4 separate regions of the Homo sapiens genome follow, and all the other regions are linked to region 4. The links are contacts of gene promoters, found by promoter capture Hi-C in blood cells and fetal thymus (Javierre and others, 2016). All regions are on one chromosome and are shown on one strand. The core of a region is centred on a gene start or on the middle of the fragment in contact, and the rest is flanking DNA. Distances in the headings are between cores, read along the strand shown.

The links. Contacts are between HindIII fragments. The CHiCAGO score rates a contact against its expected background, and 5 or more counts as called.
Region 1: a contact is called between a fragment that was not itself captured here and the fragment with the promoter of CYBRD1 in region 4, in 1 of 17 cell types (M1 macrophages). The highest score is 5.6, in M1 macrophages.
Region 2: a fragment that was not itself captured here is called in contact with the fragment with the promoter of CYBRD1 in region 4 in 1 of 17 cell types (erythroblasts); the score reaches 8.6 in erythroblasts.
Region 3: a contact is called between a fragment that was not itself captured here and the fragment with the promoter of CYBRD1 in region 4, in 1 of 17 cell types (erythroblasts). The highest score is 5.5, in erythroblasts.

The regions. Positions count from the first base shown.
Region 1 is chr2:171,023,896-171,026,871 of GRCh38, forward strand. The region is part of intron 12 of TLK1 (tousled like kinase 1); the gene reads right to left. Among named protein-coding and RNA genes, the nearest start is that of GORASP2, 96 kb to the left of the region's middle. The HindIII fragment of the contact is 1,583 bases long and covers 887-2,469 here.
Region 2 is chr2:171,159,937-171,162,698 of GRCh38, forward strand. TLK1 (tousled like kinase 1) reads right to left here and starts at 957. Exons shown (of 21, transcript NM_012290.5): 1 at 354-957. The coding sequence starts at 492. RefSeq lists silencers at 128-367, 638-1,357, 1,488-1,547 and an enhancer at 129-773. The HindIII fragment of the contact is 4,171 bases long and covers 1-2,762 here.
Region 3 is chr2:171,084,831-171,087,530 of GRCh38, forward strand. The region is part of intron 2 of TLK1 (tousled like kinase 1); the gene reads right to left. Among named protein-coding and RNA genes, the nearest start is that of TLK1, 75 kb to the right of the region's middle. The HindIII fragment of the contact is 1,076 bases long and covers 908-1,983 here.
Region 4 is chr2:171,521,114-171,523,813 of GRCh38, forward strand. It overlaps CYBRD1 (cytochrome b reductase 1), which reads left to right and starts at 1,361. Exons shown (of 4, transcript NM_024843.4): 1 at 1,361-1,625. The coding sequence starts at 1,433. RefSeq lists an enhancer at 1,450-1,559 and silencers at 1,670-1,779, 1,930-1,999. The HindIII fragment of the contact is 3,994 bases long and covers 1-2,700 here.

The DNA.
Region 1 (2,976 bases), core at 428-2,927, 500 kb before region 4:
TTCCCATAATTAGAACTTATCAGAGACAGGTATCAAAACCTGATCAACTATAAGAGCAAACTGGTTTTTGGTTGGTTTCCTTGAACCCACGATTCCACATGGGCACAGGTAGATAAAATAGGATCATTTAGAAGCTTTGCCTCAAATTAACAACTTTTTAAAGATAGGAAATTAATCTCTTTACAACTACAAGCTTTTATTAAGTAATAACTGGGGAAGTTTGTATATAATTAATGATAACCAAAAAAGTTACTTGTTCCTTTTGAAATAGTTTCAGGAATAATTTGTATAGTCTCCATACATTTTACTATATAGTTCTATTCTAAGAATTCCTTAAGATATATTTTAAAATTATTTGAGTTTTTATTTAAAAATGTGCTTTTTAAAAAGGTCTTTGTTGACCTTTAAAAATAAATCGAGTGAAAATCAATATATTAGTTAATAATAAAGAAATATTGTAGTTGATTCAACAGTCACTAACATAATGCCCAAGGAAGAAAGTATGTGAAAGAGAATGAAAAAGAATGTGTATGAAAAATAATTAACTTAAAACTGTTCTCCTTTATCTGTAATGAAAATGAAATAGCACGTTCATCCCGCCACACACCAAAAGAAAACTTAAGGAAAAGCAAACAGTCCAGTACTTAATAGAGATGCAAGGAAAGCCACAAGTGAATTAATTTTTCTGAATACAAAGAATCAACTTACTATTAATCTACAACAAAATAATTCTAGGAATTAACTACATGGGTACAGTCATTGAAATAGGAGTGGGAATGGTTCAAGTTTTGGCTTTGTCACTTACTGGTGGTATTACTCCAGAGGAAGTATATATAGATCTGGGCTTTCAAAAAGGTGTAATTAATGTTCACTCAAAAATGGTGAAAGCTTCAAAGTCTATAAAAAGTAATATGTAATTCCGTTAAAATGGGAATTTGAATTATGCCTGTGTCAGGCAGAGTATGGCAATAAGTCACTTAATAAATGGGTGAGCAACGACTGCTTAAACTTGGGAACAACTATAACAATAAATATTAGATAAAAGAATTCTTGATACAGTTGAGAGGAAAAAAAGTGACGCTCTGCTGTGATTTTCCTAATCTCAGAAGAGAAAACTAATAAGTCCATAAGTAAGTTTACATTTACTTTTTGGTAGTAACTAGAAACACCTATTTATTTTAGCCATGTATTTACTTTTGGAGGTTTCTGCCTGACTCTCATTCCTTACTCTATCACACATTGGATAATAGAGTAAGGCTATCTTTGGATTTATTATTTTTCTAACCCTGAAGAACAGCATAAAATATGAACTAAACTTCATGATTTATTCAAAGGTAAATATACTTTTTCATATTTTAGTTTAGCTTTTCAATTATAGTGATTATCATTATGAAACACAAAGCATGTCATAAATTATCCACTTCAAGAAAAAGTAAACAGGTCTTTCTATTCTCCTATGTCCATATGCCATGGGCTTCCTCAATGAACTTTGGTCCTTCAGTGCTAAGAAAGTTAGTCTAATAATTAGTTCTGCTTAATGTTAAGAATTTATTGAAGGGAGAAAGGGCAAGAGAGTCACCCATGCTAATGCAAGAGTATGCCAGGCTCCAAATCTAAACCGTAAACTGACTGGTTATATTTCCTGTGCAGGATACAAGGGGCGTCAAATATTCAGATCCAGCCTATGGTAGAAGCTGTATATTTACAAGTCGGGGTTCATGTCTGCTTAATAAACCCAGGAGCATAGGGAGCTGATAAGACAGAAGTGATAACATCTTTTCTTTTGACTCAAGCCTGTCCTGTGTTTTAAAAATCTGTTTAATCTTTTTTAGAAAACAGAATGACCTATTTTCCAACTGTGCTTCAGAATGCCAAATAACTTATTTTTATACATGTAACTTATTGCTTATTATTTTTTAACTGTATAACTCAAAAATTAATACTCGGTTCTAAGCAGGCAACTGCTATTTATGCTCTAAGGTGACATTACTTGCTTAATTTTGTTCCCTGTATGTACTACTGGCCACTTTCTTTATAATACACTCATTCTTCTCACCCAAAATAGTCTCTCAGAAGAAAACATGGGTATTCATGACATGAGAGTATGTTTCAGCATTACTGTTAATCCATTTCCCCAAAATATTCCATGATGAAGGTCAAAGAAAAGAAAAGTTATGTTGTAAATTAGTTAAAAAGAAGATAAAGTTAGAAATCTAAGACTGCTCAGTAAATTTGATAAAAGCTAGGAAAAAAAGCAGGAAAAAGATTATGGAAGGGATAATTATTGGAAAGAGTAAGTAAATACGAAAAATATAGAAGTCAAACACTGGGAAAGAGGAAAATACGAAGGTTAGAAGGTTTAGTGTTCTACAACATTTTACAAATGTCTATATAATATTTGGACACTAAGTATACCTTACTTTATAAAAGTGTTTTTCACAGAAACCAGTATTTTCAAAGTACCAGGAAAGCTTTAAAACCAACCAACCAAAAACAAAAACAAACCCTCCTTTGAAGCCTTTTCAAAGTGTACTTTTTGTAATACAAATAGCCAATTCCTAATTTAACTGCTCTACAATTTCAGATTTTATAACAGATTTTCATAAAATAAGGTGCATATGTAAAATGTCATCATTTAGAAAGAGTAATCTGAAATTTGGTATTACACGTGAAGATAATAACCCTTCAGTAAAACTCTCAAGTACACCTTGGAATCACTATAACTAAGTAAATAAGTATTCCTTTATCACCACAGGCTGGTTAGAAAATAACTGGTAAATCTTTATATGAGACATAAAGCATAGGCCCTTACGAACTCATTATCAAAACAGTTTAAGTGGGCACACAGATACTTACGACTCATCCTGTACTAAAAATTCCCTTTTCGCTTCCATAGTTCCTTTATATGGTTCTATCACTATTATAGAACTATTATGATAGTTATATAGCTCCATCTATTATTATAGAGAATAGACT
Region 2 (2,762 bases), core at 179-2,678, 360 kb before region 4:
GTACTGAGTGTACTGGCAAATGGAGCAGAAAGGGGCTCGCGTCTGGGGGGAGGCTTCCCACCCTCGCAGGACTGGCTCCCAGGAACCCCAGGCGAGTCTATGCGCCTCGCCCCGTCCCCACCAGCGCGCACCCCCTCGTCCGTCTCCTCCGCCACCCGCGAACCACCATCCACAGCCAGGGCACTACCTCCCCAGAGCCGGGGAGCCGGGCGGCCTCGCGTCCACCTCGCCACCATCCCCCACCCCAGGGTCTGGCGGAGAAGCCCCGGGGCGGGGGGGGCGGGGGGGGGGCGCGGGGGTCCGCGGCGCGGGAGAGGAGGCCCGCGAGCGGGCGCGGGCGCGGCGGTGCTTACCTTCCCTGGGCCTCCCGGATGGCGGCGTGTGATTCAGCAGGGACCTGGCCGCCGCCGCCGAGCCCGGGGTTGGAGACGTGGAGAGCTGGGACCAAGATGGCGGCCCCTCCAAACTTCCACTGCTACTTTGGACACTCATCAAGCTACTTTCTGGGAACCCGACTCCCCCCCTGCGACGGCAGCGGCGGCAACGGCACCGGCACCCGCCTCCGTCATGGCGGGGGCCGCGCTGAGGGCGAGCGAGAGAGCGAGGGCTGGGAGGGGAGAGTCAAGGGGATGGGGGAGGAAACCGAGAAGAGGGGAGGTGGGGAGGAAAGAGGTGAGGGAAGGAGAGGGGACAGGGAGGAGGGAAAGGGGGAGAAGCGAGGGAGCGAGCGGGCGCGCCAGAGGAGAGGAGGAGGAAAGGAGCGCGGCGGCGGAGGCGTCGAGGGGGTGCCAGCCGGGCCGGGGTCGGAGCGCGGGCGGAGCGCGGGCTGCGCCGGCCGAGGACACTTCCGCGGGCGGAACCTGCCGGCACCTCTGCAGTGCGTCGGCCCCCGGCGTCGCCCGGGAGGCGGCGGCGGCGGGCTGTGGGTGGCGGCTGAGGCGGTGGGGTAACCTCTGCATCAGTTACAGGCGGCGGCGGCGTCACGCGCCGCCTGTGCAAACACTATCGCGAGGCTCCTGCGCCTCCGGTAGCGGCGGCGGCGGCGGCGGCGGCAGCGGCGGCCGCGGGAGCAGGCTTGGGGGAGGGACCTGCCAGGGGCTGGGGGGTGGGGGCATGGGGAAGGAGCGAGCGCGCGAGGGAAGAGACTAGAGCGCCGGGGCGCCCCTGCCGCACCCGCGGATCGCCGCGCGGCGCGGGAGCCCGGGGTTGCCGGACTCGCGTGCGCGGGGGCAGCGTCCCCGCGCCGGCCGGAGGGAGGCGCGCCCCCGCCGCGCCGCTCGGGCTCCAGCGCCGCTGCCACCTGACTCCCCCTGTCTCCCGCGGAAGCGCGCCTCTCTCCTGACCCACACCCAACACGGGGAGAAATGCTGCTGCTCTCGCTCAGCTGCCGCTTCTCGGGAGTTCAATGTGATCGTTTCTCAAAATGGAACTGAAAAGTTGAGAGTTCCTTCTTTCTTGCCCCTCTGTACTGTGCAGAAAAACGTATGTGCGCCTCCCCGTCTGCAGAATGGGAATAATGACCGAATAAAAGAGCTATGAAAATAAACATGGGTAGTGGGAGAGTTGGGAAATAAAACTTTCTCGTGTTTTCTAAAAAAGAGTGAAGAATCTTTAATGAGGAAATTGAAAATTACCAGTTTTGTAGACTGTATGGTATAGCAATTCTTTGTTTTAAAACAGTAAGTGGAAAATCTAAATGAAAAATGTGATTACTGAATCACATATTTAGGAAAACTATACAGCGTTCATCTTGCAGAAGGTATGGTTTCTAGAAACTTATAATTTGTTTCTAGTGTCTCCGCTGAGTCCCGACTACAAAAATCCCAAAATAAATAACAGCATTTGCTAAAATTTATAGATAGAGTGTAGCTTTCTACAGACCCACACAAGTATACTCACACCAGGGATTGGGCTTCTTGTACATAAAAGAGCACTCTAGTTCAGGAAAAGTACAACAAGGTTATTTCTCTCTTTAGAAAACCAAATTGAATAGAGCACTAAAAAGATTATGATATAGCGCTACTGCACAGACAAGAGGAAATGGCATGATTACCAGGGGGACAAAAATGTCGTTTCTATTTTTTATTTTTATGACTTCGCATTTCTCATAGTAATGTTTTGTTCAGATAAACTATCATACTAGAAAAGAACCTTGATTGTCAGTTATCTCCAGAAGTAATTGTAGTTGCCTTGTGCTTTAGATACTTCAGTGAGTTTTTAGTCTTGTCTGCTTTTCAAACTTAAGAGGGACATCTCACAAACAACTTTATTGAGGTATAATTGACAAAATAAACTGCACATATTTAAAGTGTACAATTATTGGCCAGGTGCGGTGGCTCACGCCTGTAACCCCAGCACTTTGGGAGGCCGAGGTGGGCGGATCACGAGGTCAGGAGTTTGAGACCAGCCTGGCCAACATGGTGAAACCCCATCTCTACTTAAAATACAAAAATTAGCCGGGTGTAGCGGCACGCGCCTGAAGTCCCAGCTACTCGGGAGGCTGAGGCAGGAGAATCGCTTGAACCCGGGAGGCAGAAGTTGCGGTAAGCCTAGATCGCAACGTTGCACTCCAGCCTGGGCGACAGAGCGAGACTCCTAGACTCTGTCTCAAAAAAATAAAAATAAAGTGTACAATTTGATAAGTTTTGATGTGTATACCTCCCTGAAACCACTTCTACAAGGAAGATGGTGAATGTATCTATCACCCTCCAAAGTTTCCTCTTTGTGGTTCCTCCTCCACACTACTTCCATTCTCTCCAACC
Region 3 (2,700 bases), core at 196-2,695, 440 kb before region 4:
CTCAAGAAAGCATTAAAAATAAAAGTTTCAGAAATAAAAAGTATATCTGAATGAACCCAAGAGCAAATATATACAGTAGATAATGCTTTAAGATAACCAGAAGGCAAAAAACAGGGACATTTTTGAAATCAAAAGAAATGAAGAGATGAAAAGTATTTGAGAGTAAGCTACAGCTGATGATGAAGCAACAAAGATCAATATACAGATAACAGAAGACCCTAAAAACTACTAAAGCCAGAAAATAGTAAAAACTGTAATTCAAGAAAATGTCTCTGATGGCTGGGCACAGTGGCTCATGCCTGTAATCCCAGCACTTTGGGAGGCGGAGGCGGGCAGATCACCTGAGGTCAGGAGTTCGAGACCAGCCTGACCAACATGGTGAAACCCTGTCTCTACTAAAAATACAAAATTAGCCAGGCGTGATGGTGCACACCTGTAATTCCCAGATACTTGGGAGGCTGAGGCAGGAGAATCACTTGAATCTGGGAGGCAGAGGTTGCAGCGAGCCAAGATCACACCATTGCACTCCAGCCTGGGCAACAAGAACAAAACTCCATCTCAAAAAAAAAAAGAAAAAAAAATGTCTCTGACATTTTCAGTTGTCAGTCTCTTGTTGTCAGTTGTTGTTTTTTAAATGTTCAATTAAAAAAATTGAAACTACTGACAGAGCACCATGCACACCTAGGAATAACAACCCAGAAAGCGAACATCAAAGGCAAACACTTTATGCCAGACAAAAATGGAGTGACATAAGCTATTCAAGGAAAGAAAATAAAAGCAAAGTGTTTTATATTCAGTAAAATCCATTTTAAACACATGGAAAGCATAGATAAACGGTTACCAAAAATGCAAGCAATTAGGGAACCCTGCTCCCATGAGCCCTTCCTAAAGAATCTACTACAGAACAAGCTTAAGACAACCAAAATGAATAGTTTACCAGTCTAAGAACTGAAGGCAAGCAATAATATGACTTATTGTTGATCAAGATTAAATGATAATGACAAGGGAGAGGATATAATATTTAATGACTAAATGCATGCAAAGTTAATAGTACAGTATTTTTAAAACTAGGGGATGGAAAGCATACACAAAATAATTGTTTTCAGTACCCACTTTGTTCACTGTGCTAATGTTATTTTGAGACAGCTATGTGTGTGAAATACAGAATAAAGTAAAATAATTAAGGGATATCCAATTCTATCCTCTGCTTCGTATCTTCGAATTTCATAATTCACAGTATAAAGATGCATATGAAAAAAACCTTATAATCCTGAGTTTGAATAGGAAATATCAATAAAAATTCATGAAATATTTTTATCTTTTAAAACAAACAATAAAAATATAAGTAGGTAGGTAGATGAATAAGATTCCACCACCAGTAAAAACAGAATACCTTATTTTCTACAGATAACTATATATAAATCCTGGAAAAAAAGGATTTAAAAAAGCCACTACCTGAACCAAAAGTAGGCAGAATCTAAGTACAAGACAACACTTAGAAGAAGGGAACAGAGGCTGGGTGCAGTGGCTCGCGCCTGTAATCCCAGCACTTTGGGAGGCCTAGACAGGCAGACTTCTTGAGGTCACAAGTTCAAAACCAGCCTGGCCAACATAGTGAAACCCCGTCTCTACTAAAAATACAAAAAACAGCCAGGCGTCATGGCGCATGCCTGTAATCCCAGCTACTAGAGAGTCTGAGGCAGGAGAAATGCTTGAATCTGGGAGACAGAGGTTAAAGTGAGCAGAGATCGCACCACTATATGCCAGCCTGGGCAACAGAGCAAGACTCCGTCTCAAAAAAAACAAACAAAAAAAAAAAACAGAAAAAAAAAGAAGAGGAGAAGAAGGGAATAGATCTGGGTAGGTTTCCTGTTTTTACAGCTTTTGCTGAGGGGAAGGTCCCGGAGATCAGAGCTGCACAAACAGCAGTTGAAACCCAGATCAAAATCTTTAGTCTTACTGGCTTGAAAAACAAGAGTTTCAAGCTTCCAAAGAGGCTGCAAAGTAAGGAGGGATACGCTGGAAAATAAAGATCCACAAAGGGAGAGTCCCAAATTCTGCATATTAACTCTGCCTACTTCTTTGGCTGGTCAGTGATCTATGCAAAAACGGAGCAGACGATAAGCAGCCTAGATAAGACTAAAACAACTAGCAGGGATGTCAGTGCTGCCCTCTGCAGGGAGACATAGCTTAAATTTCAGTCTAGCCAAGTTAACTGCCTCCTAAAACAAAGAAAAACAAACAAAAAACAGTCTCCAAAGTCACTGTAATGTGTCATTCACAGCGTGGAGGATACAATAAAAATTTGTAATCATATGAAGAAACAAGAAAAAGTGACCCATACTCAAGAGGAAAGACAATCAATAGATACTAATCATGAAGTAACACAGATTTGGAATCAGCAAATAAATAACATAAAGCAGCTAATATAAGTAGCTCAAACGACAAGATTGGAAATTTCAGCAGACAAATAAAAACCGTAAAAAGAGCTGAACGTAAATTCTACAACTGAAAATTTCACTCTCTAAAATAGAAAACTTACTGAATGGGCTTAACAGAAGAATGGAAAAAGAGTACTGAAGATAGGTCAAGAGAAATTACTCAAACTAAAGAACAGAGAAAAAAATATTGAAAAATAGTGTCTGTTGGACACCATGAAGCAGTCTAAGATACATGTAACTGGGGTCATAAAATGAGAAA
Region 4 (2,700 bases), core at 111-2,610:
AAATTATAAATTTGAAAAAAGAGGAGACTTTATTTCTTATAAAAGGTTATAGCCTGCAAGGAGGCCATTCCATAGGCTGATAAACATAGCCTCTGGCCTAAGACCAGAGACAGGCACTTGGAAGGCAGAGGGGTTGGGGTAGGAGCTTTATGCTGAACAGTTTGGCCAAACATACATACGTAACAGGTTACAGGAGGAGCTATGAATATTAATGGAGGTGGTCCTTACACATGCATATTGAACAAACATGCATGTAACATGTTCTCTTTGGGGTGGAGACTTAACATTTAATTGTATTACTTCAAATACATTTAAATGTATTACTTCAAACCTACACTTCAAAAGGTCTTTTCAGGACGTGAATGCATACAAGTGCACAATCCCTGTACACTGGCCAGAACCGGTCCATGGTCGGTCTTCTTATCATGAAAAAGTTCCTGAAATCAGCCCAGTGAAAGCTGTAGTTCTGGCTGGTGCAACAGGGGTTCAGCTGGTCAGCATCTGTGAACTGATTAAGTTGTAATTGTTTTAATATTGCTTATCTCAAGCCAGTGCTTGTTTAGCCTCTAGAGGAAAAGAAAACCTTTGTGGCAGTTAGACCATAGTTTATTTCTTAAGTGTAGGAGTGTGTGACTTAGGTCCTTTTTATAATTTGATGTCTTATTGCTACAAAGAGTCTGTTCTGTCCGCCTTATGATTTCTATTTTAAACATTAATGCTAGTCAGCTGTTGAGTCTAAATTCCAAAATGGAGGGGGTAGACTTCCCTTCCGGCTGTAGCTAGAAACTCAGCTTTAAGGTTTTTCTGGGGTCTGCTTGGCCAAGGAGGTCCATTCAGTCAGTGAGGGGCTTAGGATTTTATTTTTAGTTTACACCACCTTACAGGTTCCTCCTTAACACCCTTTGATGTCAGAGACAGCCAATTCTCCAGCACTGTGGCTAAGGAGGCTTCGTTAGTAGTTAAAAGCACACACATAACCCTACCCAACGGATCCCTCTCTTCTCTTAACCAAGAGGGCGCACCACTGCCCTACTCAACCTCCCCACAAATAAGGACGAGACACGGGAAGTGTTAAAAGCAAGTGGTGAGTATAAAATCCTCGGAATTTTCTCTTTGAGCAACTAACTAGGTCTGTTACTGAAGCCCTCTGCGAGCTTGGATGCTGGACGAGGGAGAGGGTGAGGCCACCAGGCAATGAGCGCCCTCGGCGGCCGCGTGATCCCGGGGGTGGGGCCCATTTCTGAGTTGGGGCCAGCTCCCCACCCCCAAGAGGCCCCACATTCCGGGCCAGCAGCCCAGAAAGTCCCTCCCCGCAGGCGGAGACAGCCCCAAGAAGTCGACGCCCCGGTCCCGCCGCCCGGCCACTACCCAGAGGGCTGCCGCCGCCTCTCCAAGTTCTTGTGGCCCCCGCGGTGCGGAGTATGGGGCGCTGATGGCCATGGAGGGCTACTGGCGCTTCCTGGCGCTGCTGGGGTCGGCACTGCTCGTCGGCTTCCTGTCGGTGATCTTCGCCCTCGTCTGGGTCCTCCACTACCGAGAGGGGCTTGGCTGGGATGGGAGCGCACTAGAGTTTAACTGGCACCCAGTGCTCATGGTCACCGGCTTCGTCTTCATCCAGGGCATCGGTACTGGCACCTCCTGGGGGGGTGCGGGGAGGAAAGCGGGGAGAACGGCGGGGGCAGAGGGTCCTCCGTGAAGCCCCTTCCAGCTGAGGAAGTGCTGGAGGATCGCGGGGCCCGGAGGAGTGCGGTGAGGAGCGCGCGGGAAGCCAAGTCGGCTGGGCGGGAGGGAGGCTGGCTGGCTCTGGGGCGGGACAGAGCTGCGGTTCAGGAGGATCGCCGCGAGCGCGGGGCCGGGGGTGCGCGGTGGAGACGCGCTGCTGGGGGCGGCGGAGCGGGGCCGGCCCCACTTGGTTAACTCTTTGCGGCGACTGGCTAGGACGCACTGGAGGGGCCTCCAAGACCCAGAAACTTGAGCCCGGGCGCGATGCCGGAGCGCCGCGCAGTCGGGCCGCTGCAGCCCACGCGCCCCGGAAAGTCGCCCCTGTGGACCGAGCCTGCGCGATCGGGGGCGCGGAAACACTTTCGCCTCAGCCTTTTGCTGAACTTGCTTCCAGGCTGCAGATGAGGAGGGGAAGGCAGCGGGGAAAAGATTGCCGGAGCGAGAATTTGCCCGTATTTGTAACATCCTCGGCCCTGGGTAAAGGGGCTGGCCAAGGGGGGCGAGTGAAGCATCCGCCCTGGGTTCCTCTCCTCCTAGAGTGTTAAACTCAGTCGAGTCCGGGAAGCTGCCAGGACTTCCAAGTGTGTTTCGCCGCCCTGCCCAGTCATTGGACGGTCTTGAGCCCGACTTGTTTATGTGGCAGAAGAGTGGCGAAAGTTCCCCCGCGGGGCTTCCTATTGGGCACTGGCCCAGCACTCCGGGTGGGAGATGCCCGGAGAGGGCCCGCGGCTGCCTGGCACCGAGGGATGCCTCTGCTCGGGATGCCCCCGGCGCAAGCTGCGTCCGTGTTTGGCCCGCGGCGAGCCAGCCCCGGGCCTGCATTCTCTGGGCTGAGGCTGGCGCGGGGGAGGGGCTCAGCAGTCGCTGGCAATGTTTGTTGTCATTGTGTAGTGCCTCTCAATGTCCTGACTGCTTCCTTCGGTTTGCCGTGTAGCTGGAGGAACCTCTAGCTTTTGGCGCAAACACCATTTATTTGTA